Regions from separate parts of the Homo sapiens genome. Here region 2 is linked to region 1. Evidence: promoter capture Hi-C in human tissues and cell types (Jung and others, 2019). All regions are on one chromosome and are shown on one strand. The core of a region is centred on a gene start or on the middle of the fragment in contact, and the rest is flanking DNA. Distances in the headings are between cores, read along the strand shown. Region 1 holds the start of TTR (transthyretin). Region 2 overlaps B4GALT6 (beta-1,4-galactosyltransferase 6).

The links. The method cuts DNA at HindIII sites, captures the fragments that hold promoters and counts their contacts. A contact is called where the count stands out against the background at its distance.
Region 2: a fragment that was not itself captured here is called in contact with the fragment with the promoter of TTR in region 1 in 2 of the 25 tissues and cell types used here (lymphoblastoid cells and thymus).

The regions. Positions count from the first base shown.
Region 1 is chr18:31,590,427-31,593,126 of GRCh38, reverse strand. TTR (transthyretin) reads right to left here and starts at 1,250. Exons shown (of 4, transcript NM_000371.4): 1 at 1,156-1,250; 2 at 101-231. The coding sequence starts at 1,224. The HindIII fragment of the contact is 7,126 bases long and covers 1-2,700 here.
Region 2 is chr18:31,674,856-31,677,555 of GRCh38, reverse strand. The region is part of intron 1 of B4GALT6 (beta-1,4-galactosyltransferase 6); the gene reads left to right. Among named protein-coding and RNA genes, the nearest start is that of B4GALT6, 8.4 kb to the left of the region's middle. The HindIII fragment of the contact is 5,260 bases long and covers 1-2,700 here.

The DNA.
Region 1 (2,700 bases), core at 1-2,500:
TGTAAATTCTTTAGCAGATGATGTGAGCCTCTCTCTACCAAGTGAGGGGCAAACGGGAAGATAAAACCAAGTCCTGTGGGAGGGTTCTTTGGCAACTTACCCAGAGGCAAATGGCTCCCAGGTGTCATCAGCAGCCTTTCTGAACACATGCACGGCCACATTGATGGCAGGACTGCCTCGGACAGCATCTAGAACTTTGACCATCAGAGGACACTTGGATTCACCGGTGCCCTGGGTGTAGAGAAGACACGTGAGAAGTTAACAAAATTGATCAGAGTGAAAGGATTTATTCTTTGTGGTATTAGAAATCTGGAGCGAAACAAGAATTACACACTGATCCCATTATCAGGAACGTAAGTGTCGACAATTAATGAGCTTCCCTACTCAGTATAACACAGACGTAATTGTTTCCAAAGCAAGAATGGTTTCTGCCTCCAGACACACTGCTATCAACCAGGGATGTGTATAATGAATTTTAAGGGAGAAAATAGGTCCCCTGAGAACAGTTGCTTTGTTAAAAGTCTCCATTTGAGTGGAATTACTGAAAAGATGTAATGTACCATACATAGGGCCAAACAGGTTTTCCTGAGATCATTTTAGTTGTTGCTATAGTCACTCCCTCTTACCAGTTGTTATAAAATAATGTCAGAACTACATCCAGACCCATTTTATAGTATTAGTTAATTCTTCTAGAGGATTTAAGAATTAGATATCTGACTAGAATATTGTTCACTAAGCCTTTTAAAGATTAATCAATAAATACGTTTTGAATAACTATAGGGCCAGAATATAATCTCCTGCAGTTTGTCCCCCAAATACATTTTATGGAGGGATACTTTTCTGAAAATTCAGTATTAACAGCTTCCTTAATATCATATCTTTATTTCTATCATCTATCTGAGGAAACAGAGGTACCAGATATTACAAACCTAATGCACCAAAGCAATGAGGTAGAATGCTCAGAGTTCAAGTCCCAGCTCAGTAAGCTCAGTGGAACTTCATTCTTTTTGAAGTTTGAATTAATTATATTAAAAATAGATGCTGGGTACCCTTGCCCTAGTAATAAAAGCTGGTTGGCAAAGCTGGAAGGAGTCACTTCTACTTCATTTAGCGTGAATCTTAAATGTAGGAATGGGATGTCACAGAAACACTCACCGTAGGGCCAGCCTCAGACACAAATACCAGTCCAGCAAGGCAGAGGAGGAGCAGACGATGAGAAGCCATCCTGCCAAGAATGAGTGGACTTCTGTGATGGCTGCTCCCAGCCTGGGGCTTTTATACTCACTTCTCCTGAGCTAGGCTGCTTATCCCTGCCAATCTGACTGCAAACCTGCTGATTCTGATTATTGACTTAGTCAACAAAGAGAGAATAAGTAACCCATACAAATATGAACCTTGTCTAGAGAGATTAGAGCATCGGAACATTCGTTCTATGAAATATTCTTAATAGGTCATTTGACCAGTTAGGTCACCAAAACAAAACAACCAAAACAAAACAAAACAATCAAAACAAAACAAAAATAGTCTTCTCCCTGTGTGACTGCGTGCACTAACATTCTTGGGGGTAATTTTTTCCTCCCTCACATATTTCTATGCATGTTTTCCATTTTTATAGATTTTTTGTCTCTCATTTTAGATGCAAGATTTTAGACAGATGCAAGTTGTAATAATGTATTTCATGTTGAATGACATCTAGCTGCACAGGCTTAAATATAGTGCATTAGAAAATGTTTGCACTTGATGGATCCATGGGTCAACAAGGAAAAACCCTTGGCAGTGCTCACATTTTTAAAAGCCTACATTTTAGCCAAACTAAGTCATTTGGAAGCTTTGCTTAGTCAGCAATTTCTCCACAATGTGTGTGTGCATGTGTGTATGTGTGTGTGTGTTCTGCCCAGATAAAGTCCACTTCAATCTAAGAATGGCATCTTCCCTCCCTCCCTTCCTTCCTTCCTTTTTTCCTTCCTTTTTTTTTTTTTTTTTGACAGGGTCTCACTCCAACGCCCTGGCTCGAGTGCAGTGGCACGATCACAGCTCGCTGCAGCCTTGACCTCCCGGGCTCAGGTCATCCTCCCACCTCAGCCTCTTGCCCAGGCTGGTCTCGAACTCCTGAGCTCAAGCAATCCACCCGCTTTGGCCTTCCAAAGTGCTGGGATTACACGTGTGAGCCACTGAGCTGGGCCAGAATGGCATATTTCAACCTGGCATTGATGCCCCTGAAATACAGAGAACCAAATCTTCTTTACTGACTCTTCTGCATTGGGCATGCAGGAACAAGGCTGACAGCTGGTTTTTGACAGAACCAAACTTGCTGGAAGAAAGTAGAGATGACTGTGAGAACCAGAAGCCATGATTGACAGCAGATTCTTTTCCTCCTGGCCGACTTATTAATACAAGTCCAGAAATTATGATGATTTGATGATTCATTACTCACATACAAAGTCTCTGTGTGTATGTGTGTGTGTGTGTGTGTGCGCGCGCACGCGCATGTGTGTGTGTGTCCACTAGCATGCGTGGCTTTGTTCATGGATAAACTAAGGCAGGTTTTTGTCCTTATAAGACAAACATGTAGAAAACATAGAGAAGACAAATATTTTGGACAAATACAAGCCAAGAGCAAGTCCGGTTTGGAGCACTAAGAATTGAGGGAACATTCCCATAACTGATAGAGTCAGATTAGAAAAAATTCAACAAGAAATT
Region 2 (2,700 bases), core at 148-2,647, 84 kb before region 1:
TAATGCCTTTAACATGCCTTTGGAAAATTAAGCATTTACTCCAGTTATAATGAGATATTTTTACCTCATATCTTGGGCCCACTGGAAACTTTCAGGTGGCACTCAATTCTGTTTTTCTTCAGCATTTACATCCTGTATTAGGCCAGTTTGATTTGCTATGTTTCATGGTTAGACTGCCTGTGGACATAATTGTTTTTGGTTTTAGCAAAATTTAGCTGAGTTTGGTTTAAGATACAGCAATACCCCCTTCTCAGTTGAAATAGGAGAGTTAGCTTAAAGGATGTTTATGTCAGTAATTATATTTTTGGCTGTGAAGCACAGCAAAATGTTTAGGAAAATATACTTAGTAATTTCAAATCTTAATGTTTTATTTTTTTTCCTCCAGAAGTGTAGTATGGCTTTTTGCTTGCATCTTTGTTTTTATGTTTAATTACTTGAATTAGTGAAAGTCTTTGGCTTCACCAAATTGTTGTGTTATGTGTTCATTAAGGATGAAACACAGATACTCTTATGTCCAAATGAATTGTGGTATATTCAAAAGCTATGTAAAAGAAGATATATTTAATATAAGTTAAACTGATTTGGAAGGAAGGGTCTACTGTTTTACTTGTTACAAATGTTATGTGTGGAGAATTACTACAAGAAATAGTTTTCAAATATGAATGTGCTTAAGGTTTATTTAAGGTGATATGCTTTAATAAGCTTATTTCCCAGGTCTTATGGGAGATTCTGATTCTGATTAATTTTTAACACGTACCCAGATGTTTCTGCACACTGGGAGCGATGTTTCTGAAAAATACCCCAAATGGTGGGGAAAAAATAGTGCTACATACTTTTCTAAATTGATTATCTTACATCATTTGATATTTCATAGAACTAATCTTACTTACTGAAAACCTGATTAACTTGTTTATAACATCATGTTTTACTGGCAATAGAGATGGCTGTCATGGTGAAGAATCTTTTCCTTCAGAAGAGAAATGGACGGATACATTATTCATACCAACCAGGATCATGTGTTCCTTTATGAGTCTGCAGTGACTAGGTGATTGGGTCCTAGGTCATCCTAAATTTGTTATTTAGTGTTTTTAATTATTAGAGACATTGTAATTTACTTAAGATCAATAAAACTTATTAAACTGGATAGCATTATAGGTTACTCAGTGGAAGTAATTTCAAAGCATTTCCTAGCATTTGGCTAGAAAAGTCATTTTTATAATATCTTTACAGTGGTATATTTAAGTAGCTATATGAAGTTTGTTACTATGACATGATATCTTGATTGAATACTATGGCCTGTTTTTATATATTTGAGGCAAGTGTTAATATGATTTTACTGAAATCTTGTTACGTGTATTGCCTTCCTGATAATTAAGTTAATTGCTCAGAAATTATGACTTCTAATTATAGTGCAATTTTCAGTTTGACTCATAGGAAGAGAAATTGGACATTATTTTCATTTGAATCAAGAGACCAAAGGTAGAGAATTAAAAGGTGCCTTGTTTACTGATTTGAAAATATGCTTTGGAAGTCTTTGAAATTCATTTCCTACCCAGTTCCCTTCTCTGATTCTCATTTTAGGCTCATTTTCCTTTCATGAATACTAAGTTGGAATTCTGAAAGGTATTTTAATTGTGAAAACACAAGTAAATTGGAGGTGATTATAAAACATATTCAAATAGTTCACATTTTACTTCATTTTGATAGACTTCTTATATACTGTACACTTATATACTCTGACATCACTAATTTTCAACAATTTTATAATGTTTCCTGGGCCTGCTTATTTATGGCTTGGTCTTTTAGTCTGTAATGTCATTAAGTTAGTTTCCTGATTAGATTTTTAAGATCTGTTTAATTTCCTGCATTCTTCCTTCCTTGATTTCTTCATTTCCTCCTGATTCCACTTTCCCCAGTGTGGTTCATAACTCTCTTAGGGTTCCTGTCATGCTTTAAAAAAGCTATATAGTTATTATTTTAAGTGAATTACACAGTGCATTAGCAGATGACAAGGCTGATAGTTATCTTTTGTTAGATAGTGTTTTCATATCACTAGGTTCAGAGTCTACTTTTTGAATTATCAACTAGGGTTAAAGTAGGCTGAACTAATGATCTGGTTGTTGGAAAAGTCCTTCTGATGTTTTAGACAGTTTGTGCCTTTGCAGGATCTTGGTTCTTTACAGAGGAAGCCAGATGGCCCCTTAACTTTTGGCATTGCTTGGTAAACGGCAGACACTCAATAAACATGTGGATAAACATGTTTCCACCCTGAACATTTTTAGTAAGATCATTGGAAAAGTCAGTTTTCATTTAAAAATGTTTAACCTTGATCAGTATTCAAACACAAAGATTCTCCAGAAATAACTTAAAATTGTTAAACTGCAGAGTGGAAATTGTAAAGACACCTTTTACAAAGAATTTCTTGTCAGTTTTTAGTATTTGCATCTGCAAAGCTTGAGTTGTTAGCTAAGATCTGAAATAGATCTCCTGTATGTGATCATTGTATTTGTTGTTTGATAAAGTGGGGCTCTGAACACAGAATTCTTGCAGACTCTGTCAGCTTATAACTTGAAAAGTAGAGGTAAGGATATTATATGTTAGTAATAATTTGCACTGCAGATTTCCTTGAGTTCATACATGGTTTTGAATTATTGTCACCATGGTCAAATAGTACTTTGACATAAAAGAATTTTTTTTTTT